Regions from separate parts of the Homo sapiens genome. Here region 1 is linked to region 2. Evidence: promoter capture Hi-C in human tissues and cell types (Jung and others, 2019). All regions are on one chromosome and are shown on one strand. The core of a region is centred on a gene start or on the middle of the fragment in contact, and the rest is flanking DNA. Distances in the headings are between cores, read along the strand shown.

Region 1 (6,672 bases), core at 2,787-5,286, 61 kb before region 2:
CATTTCTACCCAAAATACAAAAAGTTAGCCAGGCATAGTAGCATGCGCCTGTAGTCCCAGCTACTCAGCAAGGCTGAGGTGGGAGGATGGCTTGTGCTCAGGAGATGAAGATTGCAGTGAGCCAAGATGGCACCACTGCACTCCAGCCCAGGTGACAGAGTGAAACCCTGTCTCAAAAAAACCAACAAACAAAAAATAAACAAAAACAAACAACCAAAAACCACACAAATTCCTGTCTCCAGAAAAGCTCCTCGCAGGCATGTCTAGGCGTTCGTAGAGGCTTGCTCAGATAGGGCCGGGAACACCTGTTCACCTCACGCTCCACTTCAGATTCTGCCATATGAAAACTCCTGCTGGGGAGACCGCATCCTTGCCAGTGCCACTGGGCCCTTCAGTGAGAAGATTAACATCCATGCCAAGAGTGTTGTTTTCTGGAACTTTCAGACTGACCATTTTGAAGGGCCAGCGCCATGCTGGCTTTTCTACAGAAGTGGGGAGGATGCCTCTCTTCCCAACTCTGGGTCACACCTTAAATCTCTCAGCCTCAGGGCAGCGCTGCAATCTCTCAGCCTCAGGGCAGCTCTGCTTGAGCCCAGAGTCCACAGAATTTCTCAGGAAGCTGTCCTAGTTTGGGGCTCACCCACGTTTCCATTACTGCTGAAACCTGAGTAACCAGAGGGGGACAAACACTAGGCCATGTTAACCCTGTCCTCGTCTTCCCAGTCTGCCCTACTCACATGTTTCTACTCCAAAGAAAATAAAAACCTTTATTGTGGTGGTGAATTTTATGTGTCAACTTGGGTAGGCTGTGGTGCCCTGTTGTTGATCAAACACCAGTCTAGTTGTTGCTGTGAAGTATTTTTATAAACGTATTTAACATTTAAATCAGTGAAAAAATCAGATTACCCTCTATAACATGGATGGGCCTCTTTCAATCAGTTGACAGTCTTTAGAGAAAAGACTGAGGACCCCTCAAAAAGGAAAGAATTCAGCCTCAAAACTGCCTTGGGAGTAAAGAACGCAACACCAACTTTTGCCAGAATTGCAGCAAGCCTGCCTTATAGATTTTGTACTTGCCAGCCCCTACAATCGCGTGTGCTAATTACTTAAAATAAATTTCATTTATATATATGATATATATGAAACTAATATATCCTATTGGTTCTGTTTCTCTGGAGAACCCTGTCTAATACACTTATCCTATCCTCTTTCAGACAATGCCAAAGTATTCATTCATAGCAACGCATCTACACAGATGTCCAGTGATACCACTTGCCTGGAAGGTCAGCAAACCAGACATTGATTGATTACCAATTGAGGCCCTTGAGAGCACTAATTTATATTGTAGATAATGAGTAACAGGTGGTATTAGGTGAGTCAGGATATCAGTTTCCATTTCTCTTGTCTAGGTCCCTACGACAGCATTGCTGAAGAGATGCCTCCTGTCCTGGTCCTGTTTCACGTTGTTCTTTCCCCAGCCAGGGCACACTGGATTCTTCAGGAACTTTCCTACCACCACAATTCCTACTTCTGCTATGACTAGTATAATTACCTAATATTTTTTGGCCATTTCTTATTTAACCCAGATGTCACCAAGGAAATCTTCACTCTGAGACAGAATGAGCTTGAGTGCACAGTCTATACTACAGGTAAGTCCACATGTCTGCAGATTTTTAGATGTGTGTGGGGGAGCTTATATGCTCAAGGTCAATGTGGGCTCCAGGTTTCCATTGCTGCTCTTCTGTACTATGTCATCTCAGACTTACACCCAAGCTTTTTTCTAGATTTCCAATAAAAGACCATTCAAACCAAATATTTGCAAAAATATAGACTATACTGAAGATGTTTAGGTTCCATAGAAGGGTCACTTCATCCCACACAGTAATACCAACCTAAAAACACATATTAGTGTAGTGAATAATGTTTGAAATGCCAGTTAAAGTTTTCCTTCCTTATGTTTCCTTTGATCGTCCCCTTTCTTCTCACTGGTCCGGCACCTGTAACATCTTTCATCTACACTGTAGTCAGAGAGAAGCTACAGACAAAAAGCCTTGGAACAGCAGAGACTTGAGCTGAGAGCCACAGCACCTGAAGAGGAAAACATTTTCTGAATTCCAAAAACATGGCTTTTATTATCAAGAGCCAATGCCTGAAGGCAGAAGACACAATGTTTACACATAAACAATCCCTGCGAAGGAGAAAGATGAAGAGCCCGTTTCCAGCCACACAAGAAGATAAAATATTTTGCTTGAATTGGGGAAAGAACTTGAAAGAGGAGAGGAGAACAAAAGAGTGAGTTTGCCTGTGTCTGTGACCCCTGGTTCCACCTCCCCCCAGGCCATGTTGAAGTGGGGAAGAAAACTGCAAATCTAATACAGGTTTACGGAAGCCAACACAAAAAAGGACTTGGCCTTCCTTCTCAGTAGATAAACCTGGGAAGACTGTGAGTTTCAGGGAGAAACTCAGCATCCATCCCGGCCAGCAAATTCTGAGTGAGACACCCTGACAGCTGGCCTCATGGACCTCCAGGGTGATAAGGGGACAGTGGCAGAATGTTGCTTGTGGACCCTGAGAGGAGGATGGGGATGACACCTAGACTAGTGGACATTGATAGGGTTTGGATGTGTGTTCCCTCCAAGTCTCATGTTGAAATGAGATTTCCAGTGTTAGAGGTGGGCCATGAGGGTGGATCCCTCAAGAATGGCCTCCCCCTGGTCATGAATGAGTTCTTGCTCTCTTAGCTCACGCAACAGCTGGTTGTTTAAAGGAGCCTGTCACCTCCTGCTCTCTCTATTGCTCCCTCTCTCGCTATATGACACGCCAGCTCCCCCTTCACCTTGCGCCCTGAGTAAAAGCTTCCTGAGGCCTCACCAGAAGCTGAGCAAATGCCAGTGCCATGCTTTCTGTACAGCTTGCAGAACCATGAGCCAAATAAACATCTTTTCTTTATAAATTACCCAGCCTCAGGAATTCCTTTATAGCAATGTAAAACAGACTAATAGAGATGTGAAGGAGTCTGATTTCTATGCCCCAGCGAGGAGGACACAGGTGGTTTGCATGGAACAGGTAATCAGAGTCCTTGGGAGAACAGTGGTCATTTTGGCATAAGCAGTGGGTCATGCACCCAGAGGCCTGGGGGGACAAGTTTCAGCTCAGTAGCAGCCAGAGAAAGATAAAAGACGACTGGGGATAAACCATTCTCTTCCCTGACATGGATGACAGTTAAAATCCTTTCCTTCTGGTACTTACATCACCTCCTGGGCAGGAGGGAGAAAAGAGCTGAGGAAGAAGTGGACTTGATTGTGAAGACAGCAATTATTCGCTGACTTTTAAATCCTAAGTGTCTGAGCTGACCTTTACTCAGATTACTTTTGTCACTACCAAGCGGAAAGGGTCACTCGAAATCTAGTTCAATTGCAGAGAAACGAAGAGTTTCCATTTTGCATACCTCTGCAACATAGGGGGAAATCTATGACATTTTCACCCCCAACATCTGGCATTCAGCTGTTGGAGGTGTTCTTGCACTCACCCTTGGGGGTTTCTCACTGGCCCTCACTGGGCCTTCCCTCTCACTGGCTTTCCTTTCTCTCTTTTTTTTTTGAGATGGAGTCTCACACTGTCGTCTGGGCTGGAGTGCAATGGTGCGATGTTGGCTCACTGCAACCTCTGCCTCCCAGGTTCACCCAATTCTCCTGCCTCAGCCTCCTGAGTAGCTGGAATTACAGGTGCACACCACCACAACCAGCTAATTTTTTTGTATTTTAGTAGAGACGGGGTTTCACTTTGTTGCCCAGGCTGGTCTCAAACTCCTGACCTCGTGATCCACCTGCCTCAGCCTCCCAAAGTGCTGGGATTACAGGCGTGAGCCACCATGCCCAGCCTCACTGGCTTTTTCTACTGATACTCACTTCTCTGCTCCTTTCCCACCAAGACTGCCTTGGGAACTCCACATTCTGCTTCTTATTATTTATTTATTTATTATTATTATTATTTTTTGACACGGAGTCGCGCTCTGTTGCCCAGGCTGGAGTGCAGTGGCACCATCTCAGCTCACTGCAAGCTCCGCCTCCTGGGTTCACGCCATTCTCCTGCCTCAGCCTCCCAAGTAGCTGGGACTACAGGCGCCTGCCACCACGCCCGGCTAATTTTTGGTATTTTTACTAGAGACGGGGTTCTGCTTCTTTAATGTGCAGAGCAAGTCAACGCTTCCCAGCTCGTGCTCTCACACAAACCTGTTAAGGCTCCAGCAGCATGAAGAGCCTTCCACTGAAAAGAATCCTTTCTAGAAGCCAGTCAGGGTTATGAATGGCATCTTTCTTCTATTACAATGAAGTACCAGTAATGCGCTAGTTGCTTTACTTACTTCATCTCACAACACCACAAATAAGAAAACTGGGGTGGCCCAGAAAGAAAATGAAAGAAGAGATAGGTAAGAAATTGTGCAGTCCCCACTCAACCCTGGTCTCCCTGTCCCCAAATCCTGCACCACTAGCCACCGTATGGCAAAAATTCCTGGACTTTGCTTATGTACTTGCTTAACAACCTTGAGGGTTAAGTCTTGATCATCTTACTTCTTCTGAAGGCTTGAATTCCTTCCAATCTGCTTCACCTGATTGACTGGTTAATGAAAGAGCTGATGTCTGCTTGGCTCTGTCCCCACATCTGAAGTGCTCATTATCTGCCTTCTCACTTTGGCAACTTTCTCAATAGTACAAACAGCCTCCGTGTCTTCTGAGGCCCGAGGGAATCTTTTAATTACCTTTTGATGAGGATAGTCACTTCCCGCCCTGAGTTTAAAGTGAAATTTGATCATGAATATTTCCTGTCCGTCTCTCTCAGGAGCAGTAGCTAACGGGTGGTATTAGTGTTTAAGCATTTATGTTCACCTCCCTCCATGGGCTACCAGGATCACCCAAGGCAGTAATACTGCAACCTCCTTTGAGAAAATGCCTCAAAAAGGGAGTTTAGACTAGTTCTCAACTAATAGTCTCATAAAATGGAGGGAAAAGAGAGGATTGTGTAGACAGGTAGAACCACACAAAATACTTTGCCCTAGACTAAAAAATTATGTGTTTGGAAATGCCTAAGATCTCATGAAAAGTAGACACTTCAGATATTTTCTAATTTCTAAATAGACTGAAGAGAAGAATATATTGCATTTTACCTTGATAAACTAATGATCACTACAAATTTCACATACTTTAATATAGTTTCACTGAAAAGTTAAGAAATTTTTTGAGATTTATTGAAAACAGTCATAACTAGAAAAATAACTTATCTTCCATGATTTGATAAATTGTGCTGCAATAATAACCAAGCAGTCACATTCCTTTAACTTAAATCCAACCTGATGAATTTCTCTGTTTTTGAAAACATTTTGTTTATCCCAGAAATGCAGGTTGGTTTAAAAATAACAAATCGATTTAATTCATCATATTGTCCAACTAATGAAACCTCCATATTGTCATCTCAATAGATATAGAAAAATTGTTTGACAACATTCGGCATTCATTCCTGATTTAAAAATAAAAATAAATAAATAAATAAACTAACTCTCAGCTAATTATGAATAGAAGGGAACTTCCTCTATCTGATAAAGTAATCCACAAGAAAACTACAGTTAACATACACAATGATGAAAGACTGAAAGCTTTCCCAATATCAGAAACAAGTCAAGGACGTCCAATGCCACTACTACTATTTGACATTGTACTGGATGGTCTAGCCAATGCCGTAGCAAGTATAAGAATTTGAAGACATCCAAACTGAAAAGGAAGGAGTAAATCTATCTTTACTTCCAAAAGACATGGCTCCATACACAGAAAATCTGATGGACTCTACAAAAGCTATTAGAACTAATAAGTAAGCTTAGCAAGGATGTAGGATACAAGATCAACACAAAAAAATAAGTTATGTTTCTATATGTTAGCAAATAACAACTGGAAATTGGAAATTTTTTAAATGCCATTAATAACATTAAAAATATGAAATAAGGATAAATCTAACAAAAAAGTATAACCCTTGTACACAGCAAACTATAAACATTGCTGAGATAAATTAAAGAAACCCAAAATAAATGGAGTTGTATTATCTTCATGGATTGAAGGATTCAATATTATTATGATGTACTCCACATATAGGACATACAGTGCAATCCTAGTCAAAATTCTAGCAGGCTGTTTTTGTAGAACTGACAAACTGATTTGACAATATGGAAATGCAAAGAACCTAGAATACCCAAAATAATTTTGAAAAATAAGAACCACTTTATACTAACCAATATACTGTCCAAAGAGAGACAGACAGGAAATATTCATGATCAAATTTCACTTTAATATACTGCACAATATACTACCAAACTGCAAGACTTACAAAGTTGCAGTAACCTAGACAACGTAGTTTTGACTTCAGACCAGTTATATGAGAGTAACTAAATAAAACGGAGGCTAGAAACAGACCTGCGCATGTATGGTCAATTGGTTTTCAACAAAAGTACAAGAACAATTCAGTGGTAACAGGAGAGTCATTTCAACTACAGTGTTAGAAAAGTTAATTTTTGAATGCAAAAAAACCAAACAACCATGATCTGTACTTCACACCAATCAAAAATTAACTCAGATTATAGATGTAAATGTGAAACCTAAAACTATAAAGCTTCCAGAAGTAAACATA
Region 2 (6,837 bases), core at 3,622-6,121:
TTTGAGAGAGTCACCATATTCGTGTAACTTTCATTAGAGTATATTGTTATAATTATTCTATTTTATCATTAGTTATTGTTGTTATCTCTTACTGTGTCTAGTTTATAAATTAAACTTTATCACAGTACGTATGCATAGAAAAAAAATTGTACATATAGGGTTTGGTACTATCCGTGATTTCAGGCATCCACTGAGGGTCTTGGAACATATACCCCCCCGCGGATAAAAGGGGATTACCCCCTTACCCCCTCCTTTTTTTTTTTTTAGAGGCGGAGTCTCTCTCTTTCGCCCAGGCTGGAGTGCAGTGGCACGTTCTCTGTCGTTCTCTGCCCCAGCATGATGAGTGGTTTCTAATTTTTTTCTTTTGTAGAAAAGGAGGTAAAAATTACTCTCTCAGCCGGGTATGGAGGCTCACGCCTGTAATCCCAGCACTTTGGGAGGCCGAGGCGGGCAGATCACGAGGTCAGGAGATCGAGACCATCCTGGCTAACACGGTGAAACCCTGTCTGTACTAAAAATACAAAAAATTAGCCGGACGTGGTGGCCCGTGCCTGTAATACCAGCTATTCGGGAGGCTGAGACAGGAGAATCGCTTGAACCCAGGAGGCAGAGATTGCAGTGAGTTGAGAGTGCACCACTGCACTCCAGCCTGGGTGACAGAATGAGACTCCGTCTCAAAAAAAAAAAAAAAAAAAAAAGCATAACAACCTAGATTGTGAAGATTGATGGAGTTAAGAATGATTCAATAATTTAATCTTAAGAGTGCCTTAGTTAGCAAGCAAGACAAAAGGTTATTCAGGATAGTAGGAGGAAAACTAAGAGACCGTGGAAGCCAAGGAGGAGATAGTTTCGAGAAAGAAAGAAAGCAGGAGCGAGTTTGAGGCACAAGAGAACTGCGAAAGGTCCATTGCATATGATTAGGAAGAGATTTCTGGAGCAATTAGGACCCTCATCAAGGTTAAAGAAAAGAGAGGATTTAGATTATCTGAGCTCCCTCCTAAATCCCTGGTTTTCAGTCCTTAGAGCAACAGGCTAACTGATGTTTAGATTAAGAAAACTGACTTTTTCCAGCAGATAAGAGGCCCAGCAGGAATCCTGGCAGAAGGAATTAGAGACTAGCACGGGGCGGGTGGAGCTCAGGGCCATTCCTGATGAATGGCCAATGTAAAGAAACCCCAGAAAGACACCAAGTGACAGGAGGCAGGGAAATTTGTAGGAAGAGCAATGTAGAATGAAAATCATTGCAAAACGGTGATTTGGTCTTAGTTGAAAGACAAGTAGAAGAAGATGAATTTGAAAGACGACTTGTCATTTATATGGACTTGTTGTATTTTTTTTCCAACCATTTTTTCAATATTTTGTTGCTTGCCTTAAGGGATGGGCAGATATGGACTCTGTCCAGTGGAAAGTCACCTCTAGGTTTTTACACATTTTTGAAAGGCGAGTGGAGAACAGCGGTGGCCTGAAAGCTCTTAAAACTAGTGCTCTGGGTCGGGGCGGTGGCTCACGCCTTTAATCCCAGCACTTTGGGAGGTCGAGGTGGGCGGGATCACCTGACGTCAGGAGTTTGAGACCAGCCTGGGCAACGTGGTAAAACCCCGTCTCTACTGAAAATACAAAAAAATTAGCCAGGCGTGGTGGTGAGCGCCTGTAATCTCAGCTACTCCGGAGGCTGAGGCAGGAGAATCGCTTGAATCCGGGAGGCAGAGGTTGCTGTGATCTGAGATCGTGCCCTTGCACTCCAGCCTGGTGACAGAGGGAAACTCCGTCTCAAAAAACAAACAAATAGCTAGTGCTCTGACTCTGGTCCAACTCTTTTTCCCTTTTGAGTTGATTCAGTGACAGCACAAGCATTAGTATCCAGTATCCAACCATCTGAAAAAAATTGGAGGATTTTAGCTTGTCTTCGCTAAAATAGTTTGGGGAATAATAGAGTCACAAATTAGAACTAGTAAGAATCCATTCCTTCAGTCTTGCTAGTTGAAGTAAATCCCTTATTTGTGGACATGAGATTTACTTTAGGTTGTATTTGGCAAGTGTGGGAGTACAGGGTGTGGAATTTATTCAGCTACAAAAGTCCCTTAAAATTCCCCGCAATTTCATAAACCCTTAAGAGTTCAGACATGCAAGAATGTTTGTGAAATCTTTGGAAGATGACAACCTAGGCTACTCTCTCTGCTGAAAATGACTAAGTTGGATTTTCTGCTTCATTCCTAAGGAGGAAACTTGACGGCTGAAAGTGAAAAGTGATGGCAATAAACCAGGGAGCGTGAAATAGAAGGTGGGTGCAAATTTTACTCAACTGGGAAAAAGATGCTAATTCAACCCCGGGCAGCAAGAGAAAATGCAAATGAAGATGAAGTCAAAAGAGCTTAACCTGTTTCAAATATTTCATTTCTAAAAATTCGATTCTATTTTCTCTTGTCTCATAGTCTGTCTTAAGAGACTCATACTAAATCCGTGGGCATCCTATTCTTTCCTCATCTAAACACATTTTTAAAGGTGAGAAATAACCAAAGTTATGAGGCAGGATTCAGGGTTAATCAATAATTTCAAACACGAAATGGAATATGTTAAGTCAAGAACTAGTGTGTAAAGATATTCAGCAATCTTGTTAGAAAGTTGTTTGAAAGAATTTGCTCTTTTTTTGCTTAGAGATGAAGTTGTTGTTCTTATTCACACACATGAACACAGCACGTTCTTGCTTCAGGAAGTGCGCCGGCGGGCAGATTGGATAAATTCAAAGATCGGTATTCTGACAAAATTGGCAGTTTCCAAATTCCAGATAAATTTGTTTATCCCAAATCATTGTGTTGTAACTTAATCACAAATTAAACAGATTTAAACACAGAGCCTTTAAGTAAAAATATGTGGGGAAATAATTGCTTAAGTTTAAAAATAGGAATCTCTATTTTTTTATTTTTTCTTTCTTTATTTTAATCAATGTTGACCAGGTTGGCCTCGAACGTGTAGCCTCGCCTCCTCGAGTGCCAGGGCAACCGCCCTGAGCCACCGCGACTCCCAGGAATCTCTATTTTTTTTAAACCAGGTGAAAAATGTTAGACCAGATTACTCACCCTTAAAAATTAGACAAAGTATCTGAGTCATCGCTCCCTTGAACAACGCCTCCTAGCCGTGGGATTGAGGAGGAATCTGGTGTTAAAAGTCCACACGCATCATTTCCCTTAATGTTATTAATGATAATTTGCATAAGGAATCTTTTTTTGACTGTAAAAATAAGTTTACTTTGACAGTCTCTATTACTTAAGACATTTGGTCTATCAGATAATATCTTCGTAATCATAGTGCTGTTTAAACTTTCAGTTTTTTTGTTCGTTTGCTTTTGTTTTTGAGACGGAATCTCACTCTGTCGCCCAGGCTGGACTGTAGTGGCACTATCTCGGCTCACTGCAACCTCCGCCTCCTGGGCTCAAGCGATTCTCCTGCCTCAACCTCCCGAGTAGCTGGGGTTACAGGCGCCCGCCGCCGCGCCCGGCTAATTTTTGTATTTTTAGTAGAGACGGAGTTTCACCCTGTTGGCCAGACTGGTCTCGAACTCCTGACCTCAGGTGATCGGCGCGCCTCGGCGTCCCAAAGTGCTGGGATTACAGGCGTGAGCCACCACCCCCAGCCTACACTTTCACTTTTTGATGAAATCCATGGATGGCTTCCTGAGATACATTGAGATTTTGTGTGTGTGCTATCTTCTGGAATGAAGCCCCACACCGTTTATTAGATGATCTTGGGGATATATGTCTTGAAGGGAAGAATGATTTAGAATATCACATTAAAATTGTATATGTACTGTGAGGCAGCAATACAAATCTGGCACTTTGCCAAAGTTATTACTAGTAGGTGGGTTAAAGGGACGTTTACTCCAATACTATGCAAAGTAAAGTGGACCTTTCTGTCAAACAAAAATAGTAATAGGCCGGGCATGGTGGCTCAAGCCTGTAATTCTCAGCCTGGTGGCTCAAGCCTGTAGTTGTCAGCACTTTGGGAGGCTGAGGCGGGAGGATAGCTTGAGCCCAGGAGGTCGAGGCTGCAGTGAGCCACGATTGTGTCACTGCCCTCCAGCCTGGGCGACAGAGTGAGACCCTGTCTCTAAAGACAAACCACACACACATATACACACACACACTGACACACACTTATTGTTCAATTCAGTGCGTGTTTTGCTTCGTTTTGGATGAAAATTAACAGGCTTTCACATTGTGACTTAATCTTATCAGAGACTCCTAAAGTAAACAATAGCGCAGTAGGAGAAACCCTGATTGTGTAACTTCTGCTCTTGCTCCCCTGGAAATAATGTCATTTCCTATAAACCCACCCCCAAACAATCGTGACTACGTATTCATACCACTGGAGTCTTCCAAAATAGCAACTGCACATTATTTATCAACGTTTAGTTTGCATTTGACAAAGCACATCCACCTGGGCTTCCATTTATCATTGCTATTATTATATTTTATTATTATTTTCTTATTTCCAAAATCTTTGTAGAATGGAAAGTAAACGGGGGGACCAAAACCCCACTTAGAACTCTGCTTAGAAGATTCGGAAATGCCCTTGAGGTTTGGTCCTCCCAGGAGAGCACGAAGTTTATCCTCGCGCGCAGCCTCTCTTCCCCGGCCCGCGCCCACCGGCCTAGCCCGGGGCTAGCGCCCGCCCACGTGTGCTCGGCTCCAGGCAAACCCCGCTGAGCAGCGGCCGCACACCGCCCACCCCGGGGATTGGTCAGCGCGGCCGGGGCCCGGCGGGAGGCGGGCTCGGGGTCGCGTTCCGGGAGCGCGGAGGAGGCGGTGCCGCCCGGCCCCGCGCCCCGCCCCCGCCCCGGGTGGCTACACAGAGGGGCGCCCACGTGCCCAGCCCTCCTTCTGCAGCGCGGCCGGCGGGCGCTCCTCTTCGCGGGACCAGCGAGGCGGCGGCCGCTGCTCCAGCGTCCCCCAGCCGCGGGCCCCCGACGCGCTGCAGCCGGCAGCCCACCGCCGCCTTCTTGGCGCGACCCCAACCCAGCCCCAGTAAGTTGCTAGGTCTCCAGCCCCGCCGAGAGGCCGCGGGCGAGGGGCAGCCCGGACGCTGGGGCCGGCGGGGAAGGAGCGGGGCGAGGGCGCCCTGGGGCCGGCGGGGAACTAGAGGGTCGAGGGCTCCCGGGGACGAGTCCAGCTGCGCGCAGCTGCCCTGAGGCCGCGCTCCAGCGAGTCTTCGTCAGGGAGTCGGGGCCGTGGGCTGGGGCTGAAGCCGTGGACCTTCGTCCTCGGGGCTGCGCCCCGGAATGCGCCTCGCCTCGTCCGGTCCCTGTGCAGCCGGCTCTGCCCGGGGACTTCGGGGACCGCTGGAACTGGGAGAGGGGCTGGCACGGCGACTTCGCGGGGACCCTTCAGTCACTATTTCCAGAGGAGCTCGGCGCACCCCTCTCCGGGTGGGCAGGCTGAACCTCCTGGCCCTGCACGCTGCCGGGGTCCCCGAAGCCGCCTTCGCTCCTTTTCGGTTCTTGGCTTAAATTAGAAAGCCGGCTTGGAGCGCTGGAAGCCCCTTCACATTCTGCAGGGGACCTGGTAAAATAGCCCGTCTTGGTGTTTGTATTGGGTATTTTAAAGTAACTGGGTGCCTTTTAAAATCCGTTTGAGATGGGCTGTATTTTATAAGCCCGTTTCATGAAACGCTGTTCTTGAGGCTTAGAGAATCTCCCAACCCATCACCCCAGAGTACCTGTCCGTTCAGAAAGTACCTTTTCATCCTCTTTTGACGCTTACATCCAGTCTATGGAGTAAGGTATTGAGAGATTGTCATCTTCAACTCGTCGAAAAGAAATATGCTCAGCAAAAGCCACAATCATATGTGGCTTTTGAAGTGGATATAGTGCCTGGATTTCAAGAGAAAAAGTACTCAGCCTCTTCAGAGTTGTAAATATTTGTGCAAAACTGGCTAAAGCCTTTAGGTGACTAATTTTGGACCAGTAATAAGATTTATCTAGACGTTTGTGCAGAAACACTAATCCTTTTAATGAGAGGATATCGTCAGATCTTATTCAAATAAGAGCTCTCTGAATCCCATCCAGGGCCGCCTGGGTTATAAAATTAGAATGTATGTGGCCTTGACTTGATACTTTTTCATTCTTGCCTGAGCTAGTCTTTAAAAGTTAATAATTATCTCCTCCGGAAGGTGAAACATTCTGTGTTTGTAATCTTTCTCTAGGAGATGTATAAGATGTGAATATTCTGTATTATGTACCTTGTTAGGATTGCTTTGTAATTAGTAAATCCTTTTTTATTTTAATTGCACTGAAGCGTGACATGAAATGATCTCTCAGTGCAGAACACAGGACTTCTTCCCTCTCCTTTTCCTACAAAGTTGCTAGTTGCCTGCTCTGGGAGGCCACTTTATTGTGATTTTTCAAGTTTCTTCCCTCGGCCCACACTTTGTTTACATTCTGTGCCTTCATCTGGGAATGGTCATTTACCTTAAGGCATTTTAATCTTTTAGGGTGTGCCATGGCCTTGGAGACCAGAGTAAAGCGCTGTGGTATCTGCGGGGATCAGTTTGCAGAATCCTTGGCCTCCTAAGCAGTGGGCATAGCTCTTTTCATTCCAGAATCTCTGATCATTCCAGAGTCTCTCCTGTCACTGGGCTTAGGAGCCTGGGAAGGCGAATAGAAGCTAGCTGGGGAGACAGGGGAGCTGTGGCAGTTTAAAAAGCCTGATCTTGCGCTGGAGTTTTTCATCTTGCATTCTCATGTATCTTTGCCTTTTGAACACATGTGCCTGAAGAATTTTAAAGTTCACGTTTCTTGCTTTGCACTGCAAGCACACTCACCTTTGCAGAGTGGAAGTGCCT

Evidence for each region. The method cuts DNA at HindIII sites, captures the fragments that hold promoters and counts their contacts. A contact is called where the count stands out against the background at its distance.
Region 1: a fragment that was not itself captured here is called in contact with the fragment with the promoter of SLC7A2 in region 2 in 2 of the 25 tissues and cell types used here (mesenchymal stem cells and thymus).

Annotation. Positions count from the first base shown.
Region 1 is chr8:17,431,563-17,438,234 of GRCh38, forward strand. No RefSeq gene overlaps it. Among named protein-coding and RNA genes, the nearest start is that of MTMR7, 22 kb to the left of the region's middle. The HindIII fragment of the contact is 3,444 bases long and covers 2,315-5,758 here.
Region 2 is chr8:17,492,217-17,499,053 of GRCh38, forward strand. SLC7A2 (solute carrier family 7 member 2) reads left to right here and starts at 4,872. Exons shown (of 13, transcript NM_001370338.1): 1 at 4,872-5,021. The HindIII fragment of the contact is 11,749 bases long and covers 1-6,837 here.